Linked DNA regions of Homo sapiens: regions 1, 2, 3 and 5 are each linked to region 4. The links are contacts of gene promoters, found by promoter capture Hi-C in blood cells and fetal thymus (Javierre and others, 2016). All regions are on one chromosome and are shown on one strand. The core of a region is centred on a gene start or on the middle of the fragment in contact, and the rest is flanking DNA. Distances in the headings are between cores, read along the strand shown. Region 1 holds the start of ATPSCKMT (ATP synthase c subunit lysine N-methyltransferase). Region 2 overlaps ICE1 (interactor of little elongation complex ELL subunit 1). Region 3 has its middle 84 kb from the start of ICE1. Region 4 holds the start of FASTKD3 (FAST kinase domains 3). Region 5 overlaps ATPSCKMT (ATP synthase c subunit lysine N-methyltransferase).

Region 1 (2,700 bases), core at 123-2,622, 2.4 Mb before region 4:
CCCAAAGATAACGTCGTATTTTCCATGTTGGGCATTCAATAGCTTCCACCTTCGGGAACTATTGTAAGTTAAAGAAGTCAGTGCTCCATTAAAACCGGATGGCTCTTCCATTCTACAACGTGCCATGCGCATTCTTGCCCAAGCCTTTACTTCTACCGTTTCCTCTCCCTAGAATGCTACCTCTCACCCCGATCTAAAGCTGTCCTCCAGCACCACGCTTATGTGCACCCTCTCCGTAGCTGTCCTTCTCACTGCACACCACCTTGTATTACGGTTATGTGCGTCCGTTTTTCACTCTTCGCTATTTTTCCTCAAGGGTGGGCAAAAAAGCACTCAGAAATGAAATACCCTGTTAAGTGACCACACCTTTACGAGTGACAAAGAAAACGGAAGGGCCGTTGCGGGTGGACCAGCGAAAGGTTAAGCAGCAGCGCCTTAACCGACAGGTGACAGAGCATCTCCCCGGCGCCCTCCCACTGGAGCGCAGTCCCACGCGGCCGTCAGGCTGGAGGAGCCGGGCGGGGAGGCGGTCCCGCTTTGCTCCCGCGGGCGACCGGACTGAGCGGCCCCACCCAGCTCCGAAGGGCGCTGGCGGCCCAGCCTGGCTGGCCCCCACATTCCGAGCCCAGGATTAGGCGCCGGCGTCTCCCGAGCTCAGTAAGCGGGCTGAGCGGCCGGAGACCGCAGGGAGACGGAGATTCTCGACCTTTCCGGGGAGCACATGGCAGAGCCGCTCCTCAACTCGCGCAGGCGCAGAGCCACGGCCTCGGCCACCTCCCCTTAGCCCACCGCGAGCAGGTCCCTGTGCCATTACCTTGAGGGCCTCAAGTCCCATAAGACGGGACTTGCGGTCCTGATCCTTGATGATGAGGAAAGGGCGCCCATATTCATCGAAGGCGAGGGTCCCCATGGACGCCATGGTGCAACAACCGGAATTACTTCCCCCCAACCGGCGGAGACCGCTACGGAAGCGAGAATGCACTTCCCTTTCTCGGGAGGGCCCAAAAGCTTGCGCACGCGCAGCACAAGACGCGCGGGACTTATGTTTCTACTGAGACTAATTTCACGCCAGACAGTATCTTCTGGAATCGGCGGCCTTCGGGAACTTCTATTATCCAGGAAGCCGGGGAGGGGGAGGTTTGAAGACACTTAGTGGAAATCTTAGGACACACAAGTCAAGAGCAGATTGAATTTGTCATTTTTTAAAACGTTACCACTGATAGTTTCTCGATAGTGGGTCCCAAGGAGGAATTCATTGACTTAAAGCACTATTTCTTTATTTCTTCGCACTCCGGCTCCGAGAAGATGGTAGGACCCATTTCCGGTTTTTTTTTTTTTTTTTTTTTTTTTTTTTTTTTTTTTAAAAACGCTGTTGGAAATCTCGCGATGGAGGGAGGAGGAGGTGAGGCTGGAGCGGCTTGGCGGGTTCCTGGGGGCATGAGAAGGGGTGCGGGCGGGCCGGGGGCTCGCGGTCAGCTGAGGTCTCCACTGTCGAGGCGGTGACCGGGTGCGGGCGGCTGCTCTGGCCTCCAGCCTGGCCTTCGGTGACCAGAGCTCCTGGTCGCCGCGCGGTGCCCGCGCCGGTTCTGGCGATCCTTGTCGGCGGGCGCGTTTCCCCAGAGACTGTTCTAGGCTACTTAGTGCAAGTGACTCAGCCTTTGGCACGATCTTAAGGAATAGGGATAGTGGAGGCACACTGATGGATTGGAATCGCAGTTCTGCCGCTCTTCCTAGCTGTGGCTTTGAGGAAATCCCTTAACTTCTTTGTCCCTCGGGTTCCCTGTCTGCAAAGTGACGGTGGTAACAGTAGTGCCTACTCACAGGGCTGCTGTGAGATTCAAGGAGAACGGTGCCTGGCAAGCTGAACACAGTGTTGGTAAATAAATTAACATTTTGCACAAATGGTTCAGTAACTTGCCACTGGTATACAGCTAGTAAGAAACAGTTACACAGCCTGATGCAATGGGTCCCACACTCTTTTTTTTTTTTTTTTTTTTTGAGACAAGACTGTAGCCCGGGCTGGAGTGCAGTGGCGCGGTCTCGGCTCACTGCAGCCTCCGCCTCCCGGGTTCCAGTGATTCTCGTGCCTCAGCCTCCCAGGCAGCTGGGACTACAGGCACAGAACCACCACGCTCGCTAATTTTTGTATTTTTAGTAGAGACGGTGTTAACGCCGTAGTGGCCAGGCTGGTCTCGAACGGCTGACCTCAAGTGATGTACCCGTCTAGGTCTCCCCAAGTGTTGGGCCTGAGCCACCGCGGTGCCCGGCAGGTCTCACTCTTAAGCCCTGTATTATGCTGCCTCAGAAAGATCTTGGCAACCGCAGCTGTCCTCTAAATCTCTTATGCTGCCTTCCTCCCCGCCCTCCAAGATCATGACTTAATATTTGATAGGTTTAGATTTATTTGTTGAGGGTTTCCATCCTTGCTTCTCCCCTACTGCCATGGGCAGGGACTTAACTAATAAAGTTGTATTATTCCCAGACTTTATTAGGCACTCAATAAGTGCTGAAATGAATACATGCACTATAACATTTGACCCTGTCCTGAAACTCAAGAACAGACTTGGCGACTGTGTTCCCATCTACTCTGGGGCTGAGGCAGGAGGATGGGTGGAGCCCAGGAGTTCAGTTTACAGTGCGCTATAATCGCGCCACTGCACTCCATCCTGGGCGACAGAGCGAGATTCTGTCTCTAAAAAC
Region 2 (2,953 bases), core at 303-2,802, 2.4 Mb after region 4:
ATCAATTACGCACTACATCTTGAGAAAAACTTTTGCAACTCATTTCCAGCAAAGATAGCAGAAAACTCTAGGTTTTTGCCAATTTATTTTTTCCTAGTCACTCATTGGAACACAAGTCCAACAACAACAGCTCAGGAACCAAATCATGTTTTTATATTGGTAAGTTCATTATAAAATGCCACTCAATTTTAAGAAGCCACTAAAAGGACACTTTCTGCAGCAAAAAAAGGGCTAAGTTCAAGTTTTTGTTGTTTGACAAAGACACAATAATATAACCCATATGTCACAGATCACAACAGCCTTAAGTGAAACGTATTAGATTTAGGGAAAAACGACTATGCGACTGCTTGTTTCTCCTGTCTCCTTGCCAAACAATAAGGAGAGCCTCTGGTCTGTTTTATCTATTTTATGTCTTTTTGTTTTGAAACCTCCCTTTGTATTCTGAAAGCTGATCAAACTATTTGTGTTCAAAATGTGTCAAGGCACTTCTCAAGCCTCAGTGGCATCCCAGGTCAGCCAAGCTCCTCTGTGCTCAGGGCACTGACTTCCTCTAGGCAGCTGACAATCGCAGACGGAACGCTTTTGGAGGCCTCTCTCCGCCAAGCTTCCAGGATCTTGGAAATTTCTGCTGGATTGCTGGGACTCAAGTCACAAAGAGCATACACGGCTGCTAACTGTATACCCCATGGTATATCTGAAAAGAAATTTCAGATCAGTCATAAAACAAGAAAATATCTGTTATTCAAAATTTTAGTGATGTAACCTACTGGAATACTATTCAAATACAGAATGCTTTCTGCCAGCAATGAAAATTAAATATAAAAAAACCCACAGTAAAAAAATTCATTTAAGACCTGTCCACAAATAAAAAAGAAGAAAAGCCAGACAGTAGCTGTCTGTAGTTTCCTGGCCCCAGCAGTGTTCTGAGGACTGTTTGTGTGTTTTTAAAAAGGAGAGGGCCTCCAAGATCCCAGTCACCCACGGCCACGACTGAGCTTCCCAAAACAGTTCTGGAAGGATCACACTCCCATATTTAAGTTTTAATAAAACGTGATCCTAAAACCTTCATTAAACATATGACTCTATGAGATATCCACGGGAAGCATTTATAAATGGACTTTGGAAATGAGAAAACATAATAAGAGATATAATGAAAAACTTTTTGTAGCGTACCATACTTTCAAAAACTACAGTGTATGATTCTGGATTACAGCTAAGTTATACATTACAGTGTATTATCACAGTTCTCTTTTAAGGTAAGTTTATTTCAGAGTTATGAAAATTTCATTTACTTAGATAATTTAGGTTAAACAATTTAGGAGTTAAAGTTGGAGGTTGCACTGTATTCCTACTCCAAAAATCTGAAATCCAAAATGCTCCGAAGCTGAAACTTCTGGAGCATCAACATGACCCACAAAGGAAATACTCACTGGAGCATTCTGATTTTCTGATTAGGGATGCTCTCAACTCATAAATATAAAGGAAACACTCCAAAATCCAAGAAAATCTGAAGTCTAAAACACTTCTGGTCCCAAGCATTTCAAATAAAATATACTCAATGTGTACCTCAGTTTTCTCCAACAAGGTAAACTAGCACTATTTCAAATAATACAAAAGCCCACACATTCAAACATGAATGCTGACAAGCAGGCACAACTGCAGCTCTTAATATTACTCCCCCCCATAAACCACAAGCAATGAGAAAGCACAGAGCACGGGGCACACAGTAAGGCCATGACTCAAACAAATAAAAAAGTGTAACAGTAAGAGAAACACAAGAGGTTAAAAATAATTTTAATAAATAACAGCATGTGGCACTATTTAAAGAGCTAGCTCTGGAGAGGGACAGACCTGGGCAAACAGCAGGGATGGCACTTCCTAGCCTCACCTTCAGCAAATCACTCTTCTCTCTGAGCTTTGGTTTCCTCCTGTATACAAGAAGGACAATGCCATCCACTCAGATGGCTGTCTTGGGGATCCCGTTAGGCTGTGGGGCAGTGCCATGCACAAGGTCTAATCTATAGCAGGCCCCAACATCAGCTCCTCCTTCTCCCTCATGGGGACGAGGATTACCACAGCTTCTAGGTTACACCCACTGTAGTATCAGAGTAAACTGCATCTGCTGGCAAAACAACTCATTAGCCATTATTCTGGCTACTTTCTTTTATGTCAATATACAACCTCAATTGTAAAAAAGTACACTGTAATATGGAAGAAATGTGTACCACTTCAGCAGCTATCCTAAAGTTAAAGAAGGTATTTCAGATAAAGCAGCTTAAATGAGAAACACTGTTCTCATTAAGCTAAATATACAGTCTCCCACTGAAAGCTGAAGACAACCTACCATGTTAAGATCATCTTGGGTGTTATACAGTATTTAAAATGTAACTCTGTGCATTTCTGATGGCATGTTGCTTAACTGTATTATTCCTTGATTATACAATATTCAAAATAAAAACTAGATTCATCCCTTATAAGAGTTACTTTGAGTTAAGCTTCTCCCACAAGAGATAAAATTACATGCTATGCAATACGTAAATGATAATAGAAATCCCCACTACGAAGCCTTGCTCACAAGGTCTCCAGGTTTCCAAGCTCTCCCCCCTTGATGCTAAGTACTCTGTGATACCTGGCATCTCACTGTACATCACGGATTTCATTCCGTCAAGACACAGCTCCACCCAGGAGGCCTCGCAGAGAGCCCAGGTTAAGTCACTTGTCAGGGATCACACAGTACAGAGTTTTAGAGGCAGAATGTTAGCCGCAGGAAGAGAAGAGACTTTCTTCTTCCTTAGGAAAGCAGTGCCCAACAAGGCAAACGACTTTTATTTAAGTAATCAAATACCACCACAAAATCCACACACACATTCCAATATTAATGCTGGAATGTTTTGCAAATATTCCCTAATCTATGAGGCAGCAAGCAAAGCACAGAGCACAGCACACAGCAAGG
Region 3 (3,019 bases), core at 106-2,605, 2.4 Mb after region 4:
AGATGCACCCAAGGGAAACTTTAATTTTAGTGCAATTTATACACGGAAGTGCTCAGATCTCAAGTATACCTTACGGTGCCTGTCAAGACACAGAGCATCTTCCCCGTCCCAGAAAGGCACCTAATTCTCCTTCCCGTGAGTCCTCCACTGCAAAACCTGCACTGATCAGATTTCTGTCACCCTCAGTCTCTTGTGCTTATTTCTTCAAGTTTGTATGGATTAAATCACCTGGGATGTACACTTCTGTGTTTGCTGTACTCCTCTTAGCCTGTTACTCTTGAGACTCATGCATATTGTGTGCTGACTGCTATCCAAGTGCATGAGCAAAGCATAATTTACCCACGTGTTGATTAAACAATCCAGGTTTGACTATTATAAAAGTCTTTTTTGTAAAGGAACTTTTATGAATATATTGCATTTATTTTTGACAAATACCTGGGAATGACATCACTGGGTCATAGGATGGAAGTATATTATTTTAGGAGAAGACAGACAGTTTGCCAAAGTGGCTGTACCATTTTCCACCCCTGCCAGCAGCAGATAAGCATCCCAGGGCTCCGCATTCCTCCCAGCACCTGCTGCAGTCAGCCTTGGGCATTGCAGGTCTTCTAGGGCAGCATGCGGTAGGAGCTCCTGGGGTGTCTAGTTTGTATTTTCTTGATGGTTGATGAAGTTGAGCAGGTTTTCATGTGCTTATTTGCCATTTTTATGTCTTCTTTTGTGAACAGCCTCTTTGCTTTTTTTCTCCTTTAAATTGTGTTCTTTGTCTTATTATCATTGAGTTTTAGAAGTTCTTCATGTAATTTGGATACAAATCCTCTTTCTTATGAATACATTCTCACAGTCTGTGACTTAACTGTTTATTTTGTTGATAATGTTTTGTGATGAAGATTTTATTTTTTTTGAGACAGGGTCTCATTCTGTCACCCATGCTGGAGTGCAGTGGTATGATCTTGGCTTACTGCAACCTCTGCTTTCTGGGCTCAAGAGATCCTCCCAGCTCAATCCCCCAAGCAGCTGAGAGTACAGGAGCGATCCACATGCCTGGCTAATTTTCGTATTTGTTGAGCTCAAGCAATCCACCCACCCCGGCCTCCCAAAGTGCTAAGATTACAGGCATGAGCCGCTGTGCCTGGCCGGATTGTTTTATCTTGATGAAGTATAATTAATCGTTTTTTAATTTTATCAGCATGTTTTTTGTCTCCTAAAAAATCTTTGCTTGCCCCAAGATCACAGACGTAATCTTCTGTGTTTTCTTCTAGAAGTTTTATGATTGTTTTAGCTTTTACATTTGGGTCCATAATTCATCTCAAATTGACTTTGTATGCAGTATATTAGTGATCAAGTTCTTTTTATAGTGGATCTCACATAAGGCACATTTTAAAATATAATTACAAAATATTGATTACAGTTGACTCTTGAACATTGAACAATGTGGGGTTAAGGGCACCAACCCTCTACACAGTCCAAAATTTTTTGACTCCCCCCAAATTTAGCTACTAATAGCCTGTTGACTGAAAGCCTTACCAATAACAGAGTTAATTAATACGGGTTTTCTATATTGTGTGTATTATATACTGTATTGTTACAATAAAGTAATCTAGAAAACAGAAAATGTTATTAAGAAAATCATAAGGAAGAGAAAATGTATTTACTTTTCATTAAGTGGAAGCAGATCTTCCCAAAGGTCTTCATCCTGGTTGTATTTTCTTGAGTATGCTGAGGAGGAGGAGGGAGAAGATAAATTGTTCTGATTGTCTTAGGGGTGGCAGAAGCAAAAGAAAGTCTGCAGGGTTCAAACCCATATTGTTCAGGAGCAACTGTAATAGAGTAGCAATATAGACTTGCTTCCATTTGGCTGTTAACACGGGATTTGAAAACTGGCTTTAGTACACCTGAGAGGGTTAGAGAAACTCATGTAATTCACCGCCTCCTCTTGCTTTTCCACTTCCTCTACTTGGGACTACTTTGACTTACTAACCACATTTATTTATCACTGTCGGTTTCCTTGCTGTCAAAATAGAAGTTTATTTTCATCCCCCCTGTGTGTAGCACAGCACATGTGACAGACATTCTCCAGATGGTATTGCCTCCCTTGATATTTTTCTCTCTTTCCTTTTTTTAAATTATGAAATTTACCATTCATGGATATATATGCACAGTTTAAAGAATAAACATACTCTCTTTTTCTCCCTCATACACAAATTTATAAGGTTTTTTATAATTATACAAATATGTACCCTTTTTTGGTGCTTTTCATTGCTTCTTACAGGTTCAGGGTTAAATCTGTTATAATTTTTCTTCAGCCTGAGACAATTATCGTAGTATTTCTTTTTTTTTTTTTTTTTTCCTTTTGAGACAGGGTCTCCCTCTGTCGCTCAGGCTGGAATGCAGTGGCATGATTGTGACTCACTGCAACCTCTGCCTCCTGGGTTCAAGTGATTCTCATGCTGCAGCCTCCCGAGTAGCTGGGACTACAGCTACACACCACCAGGCCCAGCTAATTTTTGTATTTTTTTGTGGAGACACGGTTTCACCATGTTAGCCAGGCTGATCTTGAACTCCTGACCTCAAGTGATCTACCTGCTTCAGCCTCCCAAAGTGCTGAGATTTACAGGCATGAGCCACTGCACACAGCCAATTGTGGTATTTCTTAAAGAGAAGGTCTGATGGAGAGAAATTCTCTTAGCTTTTATCTCTTGAAAATGTATTTATTTTCCCTTCATTTTAAAATTAATCTCCTTTTTGAGATAATAGTAGATTCAGATACAATTGTAAGAAATGCAGAGAGATCCCACATATTTTTTACTGAGTCTCCTCCAATGATGACAACTTACAAAATTATAGTACAATATCATAATCAGGTATAGACATTGATACAGTCAAGATGTAGAACAGTTCCATCACCTACAGGATCTCTCATGTTGCCCTTTTTTAGAAACACTTAACTGTCTCTTCCCTACATCCATCCATGACCCCGGTAACCATGAATCTGTCTTCTCTTTCTATAATTTTCTCA
Region 4 (2,700 bases), core at 1-2,500:
TTGGTTCTTATTTGATCCTAACGCTAAACAAACTAATCATAGTACTAAAGGTAACTGAAGCACATACTCTCCTTCATTATTTAATGCAAATCAAAAATATGTGAGTGTATGGGCATATATACAAACGGGTGCATATAACGAAAAAATATTTCCAATCCACTTAAACATTTTACTAACACGTTTTTCCGCAAGAGATAAGCAGTAGTAAAACAAACGACACTCACAGATTTTTTTCCATACTCATCTAACGGCTAAAATTGGTGGGCTGTCAATTTGCAGAGACAGATTTAAACTGAAACCCAAACCAAAAGCTTGGCTTTCGGTGAATGAACCGCCCAGAACGGCACCTGGCATGAAACTGGTACTCGATAAGTTATCTGAATGAGTGAATAAACAATATGAAAACACTACACATTGACAGCTCACAGAAAACGGTGGAAACGATAATGAAAACCTTACTACAGCTAAAATTTCTATCACTTCCCATGAAACACACATCCTGAGGGCTTCCCAGGATCAATCAACCCCTCATCCCTGCTACTGCCCCACAATCCGGCACCACCTTCCCACGACTCTCAGCGGAGGCCCGGGCCCCAGCAGCCCCGGAAGCGGCGCGGAGGCGGTGGGCAGAGCTCACGGCCGCGGGCAGAACTCACGGCCGCGTCCCGCCGGGTGGGCGCTCGGAACGTCCCGGGTTCCCCGGAGCGCGCCGCCCCAACCCGGCATGTTCCCCAGTTCCCCGCGTCCCCGAGTGCGGTTTCCCTAGGCCTGGAAAGCGCCTAGAACCAAAGGCAGAACATGAGGAGAGACCCCACGCCGCCCAGGGGCCTCCCGCGGCAGAGGCCGACGCCGAGCCCAAGGACACGCTCCCGGGGACACCAAAGCCAAAGGCCAAAGGCCAAGTCCGAGCCCCAGCCCGCGCCCGCGGCGACCCCCGGAGGCCGAAGGGCGTGGGAACCACGGGCGCAAGCCGGCTGCCCACCCCCGCCCCGGGCCGCCTCTCCCAGGAGATTAGTGCAGGGCGAGCGGCCGGAATCCGGGAACCGTAGCCGACAGGCAGCTTACCCACGCCGCGCCAGCCGGGCACGAACCTGCACAACGCGACTTCCACCAACCTTGCGCCAGCGCGCACTGACGCAGCGCCCATGCTCGGTACCCAGGACCAATAGAAAGCTCCGAAGGGGACCTGGGCCAATCACATTGCGCCGCCCTGAGTCGTGCTCCCGCCCCGCGTTTGCTACGGAGGCCCACGACGCCCAGGCGCTTCCGCGACCACCCGGAGTGATTGCCCGGCAGAGCGCGGTAGGTGTCAACGCGGGGTCTCCGCGCAGTTGGTCCGGCTGGGTGTCAAAGACCTGGCCGGCTTTCTCCTCAGGCTGCGCCGCCCGGCCCGTGTCTCAGCGCAGGTCCCCGGGGCGCCGAGTTTGGGGGTGCTCGCCCCGCGGGTCCCTTTCATTCCTAGGAAAACGCGCCGCGGGGCCTCCCGTCTGTCTGTCTTGCACACACGTGTTGCCAAATCCCCCCGCACCGTCTTTAGATCTGGACTGGCCGCCCCACCTTCTCCCTTCATTGATCTATGTTTTGCTTTTTCTTTTCCTACCTTGTTTCCATTGACAAAGTAGACCCTTTCCTTCAACACTAACCTTCTCCCGACACCGAGGGGAAACCAACAGCTTAGGGCCTTTCCAGCGCGTTTTTACCCTTGCCTTGCTCTAACCTCGCCTAATTTTGCCCACTTTACCTGTTCTTTGATTTCTATCCAAATGCAATTTCTTCCTTCAACCAACATTTAAGGGCCACCCTTAAGAGCTACATTGCCTGAGTTTGAACCCTAGCTCTGCCACTTAACCACCTGCATAAACTGGGCAAAGTAACTTTGTGCTTCAACTTCTTCCTCGTGTAAAATGATAGTAAAAGTACTGAATCTGTGTAAGTTAATAGAATACCTACAACAGTGTTTAGCAAGTAATAGCGATTGTTATTGTTCAATGTCAGCCACTCTTCTAACTCTAGGATGCAGAGACTTTGCCCCTCTGGTGTTTATATGTTAACCATCCTTTTTTTTTTTTTTTTTTTTTTTCCAGATACTCGTTTGTAGTTTCATAAACATTGATGTTGGGTCAATCATGTTCTCAATGTATTTAACCATGTGTTTTTAAATTTTTTAATTTAGTTATCAAATTGAGAATCTGATGGTATGGCATTAATCACCTTGAGGAAGAACCTTTATCGTTTATCTGATTTTCAGATGCATAGAGCTCTGGCTGCTTTAAAAAATAAACCTCTAAATCATGTTCACAAGGTAGTCAAGGAGCGTCTGTGCCCTTGGTTGTGTTCACGACAACCTGAGCCTTTCGGGGTCAAATTCCATCATGCCCATTGTAAAAAGTTTCATTCGAAAAATGGAAATGACCTTCATCCACTCGGTGGACCAGTGTTCTCTCAAGTATCTGACTGCGACAGGCTTGAACAAAATGTTAAAAATGAGGAGAGTCAGATGTTTTACAGGAGACTGAGCAACTTGACTTCATCAGAAGAAGTGCTAAGTTTTATAAGCACGATGGAAACCCTGCCTGACACTATGGCAGCAGGAGCTTTACAACGAATTTGTGAAGTGGAAAAAAAGGATGGTGATCAAGGGCTGCCAAAAGAAATACTGGAGAATAGCATCTTTCAAGCTTTATGCTTTCAGTTTGAAAA
Region 5 (2,875 bases), core at 257-2,756, 2.4 Mb before region 4:
ACCTTCAGTATAATGCCATATTCTTTACTTTTAAAATATAATTTAGAAATGCTTTTGTAAAATATTCTTTTTTTTTTGAGCCAGGGTCTTGTTCTGTTGCCCAGGCTGGAGTGCAGTGGCATGATCTCGGCTCACTGCAACTTCTACCTCCCTGGTTCAAGCAATTCTCCTGCATCAGCCTCCTGAGTAGCTGGGACTACAGGCACCTGCCACCACGCCCAGCTAATTTTTATATTTTTAGTAGAGGTGGGGTTTTGCCATGTTGGCCAGGCTGGTCTTGAATTCCTGACCTCCAGTGATTTGCCTGCTTCGGCCTCCCAAAGTGCTAGGATTACAGGTGTGAGCCACTGTGCCCAGTCTTGTAAAATGTTCTTGAAAGTGACAGTATCCTGTACATTTATAATTCTCATTAGGCCTAAAATTAAGACCAAACTTTGGTATTCAGCCTTTTCTTATAGAAGTGAAATGAGGTAGAAGGGCACACTCCCTGGTCATTTTTAAAAAACTGATTGGGATCATAGATTGATACGCAATTTTGATGGTGATTTATTACCTGTGATGTTTGGGCTTTCGTTCTAAAATGGAATTGTTAGCTTTTTGGAGACAAGTAACTTTAATTTGAATCTGTGCTTTATAAAAATAGAATGTTAGCATTTACTGGAAATTCCATGCGTTGTGGAGAGGCAGGATGATGAAATCAGGATTACTTGTCCCAGCGGGGGGCAGCAGTGGCCTTTGGTAGTCATCGTCACTCCAGGACCTGTGGAGCCGACTCCGGGTGCTTCTTACCATGTTTGAAGTAGACTGACTCACTTTATGGAGCTGTTCAATCAGGGGAAATAAGAGTCTTATTATTTATGAATACTTTTGTGATTACTGTCCATTCTTCTGTATGTAGAGAAATCTGAAATAAGGAACATGTACCATTTCACTATTCCCAAGGAGAAAGGGGAGCAGCTGAAGGATACAAAGTGTCCACGTTCCCTGTAATAGAGATTTGGCCAGCTTGCTGTCTTCATGCTGGTGGGTCGGTCAGGGGTGCGGAGGCTGGGATGGCTTCTGTTGGTTTGGAAGGCTAAGTTTTGTGTGTGGAGGCCCCTACTTTCAGCCTTCATCAAGCTGTGTCTCAGTGGAGGCCATGAGGGGAGGGGGCGTGTGCTGTGCCAGTCGACCATCCCAGCCGTGGCTGGGTGACTCCACAAAGCCAGCATGCCATGTGACGTTCCCTGCTGATGCCCAGGTAGATACTCAGAGAGCCAGGGGAGCCTTGGGGAGGCCCAGAGCCAGGAATCTCTGGGGCTGTAAACCCTCACCCCTGCTTCTGATACCAGACTGATGATCCCTAACAGCTCTGTGCGGTTGTAGCTCAAAATCAGAGGTGCCCTAGCATTTCCACACAAGTATGTATCTATCTAAAAAGGAGCAGGAATCCCATCTGGATCTGGTCAAGCCAGTTGTGGGGTTGTGAACATCCATGTTTAACATGAGCTTACGCACTGAGAGCATCTTTTCAAAGTGCAGAGCAGATCAGCCTTGCTCTTGTGTAAAACCCTTCTGTGACTTCTTGCCGTTTTTAGGGATAAGGCCCAAATACTCACTGTGGCCCTGAGGCTGGTGCGCAGGGGCCCCTGCTCCCCTCCAGCCTCCCCTGGGCCATGCTGCCCTCAGCTCTCTGCACCAGCCCTCCGTCCTTCTCTCGGCCCCCTGGACCTCGCCATTGCTGCTCTTCCCAGAGCCTGGGGTGTTTCCTTCCTTCTGACTGTGGTCTCCCTGGCTCTGGACTTCGTCGAACAGCACTGACCACTCATGGGCCAGCTGTCTTTTCCTCTGCAAGGCAGTCCTTGATGACAATGAGGCGAGCTCCAGCGGCCCGCTTTACTCTCATATAGTACCTTGTTGCCCTGTCCTTAGATGGGTTATTGTGCATTTCTTTGTCTGAAGGCTTCGACACTGCTAGCTGTGTGCACTGCACCATCAGCTCAGGGGCAGGGACCAGGCCTTTCTTCTTCTAGCTGGCCCAGGCCTCCAGCACCGCAGCACTGGCACAGGCATCACTCAGTAAACGGTTGTTGAATGAATGAATGTGGTCTAAATATACCCATTATTTATACTTTTCCCAGAAAGCTATCTACTTTCATAACTTCAAAGAATGACCAATTTTAGTTACAAATTCTGTTATGAATTTTTTTTTTCTTTTTTTTGAGACAGAGTCTCACTCTGTTGCCCAGACTGCAGTGCAGTAGAGCGTGATCTTGGCTCACTGCAGCCCCAGCCTCCTGGGTTCAAGCGATCACCTGTCTCAGCCTGCCAAGTCGCTGGGAATACAGGCGTGTGCCACCATGTCCGGCTGATGGTTTTAGTTTTCGCAGGGACAGAGTCTCACTATGTTGCCCAGGCTGGTCTCAAACTCCTGGGCTCAAGCAGTCCTCCGGCTGCAGACTCCCAAAGTGTTGGGATTACAGGTGTGAGCCACCATGCTTGGCTTTTATGAACTGATGAACAAAAATATTATCATTATGTTCTAGTGAAGAAAAATAACTCGTAGCTGAATCACTTTTTCTTCCTTCTTTCCTTCATTCATTTGACAAGTGTGGCCACTATAGCAAGCCCTGTTCTAATCGCTTGGAATACTTCAGTGAGTACAAGAGAAAACACACCTGCCCCAGGTGCTCATATGCTAGTGGGGAGAGCAGATATTACATGAGATGCCTGTAGAAGATGCATCATACAGCAGAAGCAAAAGTGCTGTGGAGCAAAGCAAAGCAAGGGCGGGGTGGGGCAGGGACAGGATCCCTGCAAAGGTGACCTCTGAGGTTAGGGAGGGGGCGTGCAGGGAAGAGCGCCTCGGGCAGGGTGGGGGGCAGTGCAGCAAGCA

What was found. The method cuts DNA at HindIII sites, captures the fragments that hold promoters and counts their contacts. A CHiCAGO score of 5 or more calls a contact.
Region 1: the fragment with the promoter of ATPSCKMT here is called in contact with the fragment with the promoter of FASTKD3 in region 4 in 16 of 17 cell types (total B cells, total CD4 T cells, naive CD4 T cells and 13 more); the score reaches 32.9 in total B cells.
Region 2: a contact is called between a fragment that was not itself captured here and the fragment with the promoter of FASTKD3 in region 4, in 9 of 17 cell types (total CD8 T cells, naive CD4 T cells, naive CD8 T cells and 6 more). The highest score is 20.7, in total CD8 T cells.
Region 3: a contact is called between a fragment that was not itself captured here and the fragment with the promoter of FASTKD3 in region 4, in 5 of 17 cell types (naive CD8 T cells, total CD4 T cells, naive B cells and 2 more). The highest score is 12.3, in naive CD8 T cells.
Region 5: a fragment that was not itself captured here is called in contact with the fragment with the promoter of FASTKD3 in region 4 in 1 of 17 cell types (total B cells); the score reaches 5.9 in total B cells.

The regions. Positions count from the first base shown.
Region 1 is chr5:10,248,560-10,251,259 of GRCh38, reverse strand. It overlaps ATPSCKMT (ATP synthase c subunit lysine N-methyltransferase), which reads left to right and starts at 1,372. Exons shown (of 5, transcript NM_199133.4): 1 at 1,372-1,402. The coding sequence starts at 1,387. It overlaps CCT5 (chaperonin containing TCP1 subunit 5), which reads right to left and starts at 980. Exons shown (of 11, transcript NM_012073.5): 1 at 815-980. The coding sequence starts at 919. RefSeq lists silencers at 1-52, 383-522, 593-662, 1,413-1,472, 1,483-1,602. The HindIII fragment of the contact is 6,282 bases long and covers 1,011-2,700 here.
Region 2 is chr5:5,486,890-5,489,842 of GRCh38, reverse strand. ICE1 (interactor of little elongation complex ELL subunit 1) reads right to left here. Exons shown (of 19, transcript NM_015325.3): 19 at 1-694. The coding sequence ends at 513. Among named protein-coding and RNA genes, the nearest start is that of ICE1, 66 kb to the right of the region's middle. The HindIII fragment of the contact is 1,891 bases long and covers 607-2,497 here.
Region 3 is chr5:5,504,994-5,508,012 of GRCh38, reverse strand. No RefSeq gene overlaps it. Among named protein-coding and RNA genes, the nearest start is that of ICE1, 84 kb to the right of the region's middle. The HindIII fragment of the contact is 5,351 bases long and covers 1-3,019 here.
Region 4 is chr5:7,867,581-7,870,280 of GRCh38, reverse strand. It overlaps FASTKD3 (FAST kinase domains 3), which reads left to right and starts at 1,250. Exons shown (of 7, transcript NM_024091.4): 1 at 1,250-1,302; 2 at 2,085-2,700. The coding sequence starts at 2,198. It overlaps MTRR (5-methyltetrahydrofolate-homocysteine methyltransferase reductase), which reads right to left and starts at 1,133. Exons shown (of 15, transcript NM_002454.3): 1 at 1,066-1,133. RefSeq lists silencers at 631-680, 741-790, 801-1,240. The HindIII fragment of the contact is 2,367 bases long and covers 314-2,680 here.
Region 5 is chr5:10,231,530-10,234,404 of GRCh38, reverse strand. The region is part of intron 4 of ATPSCKMT (ATP synthase c subunit lysine N-methyltransferase); the gene reads left to right. Among named protein-coding and RNA genes, the nearest start is that of ATPSCKMT, 17 kb to the left of the region's middle. The HindIII fragment of the contact is 3,492 bases long and covers 1-2,875 here.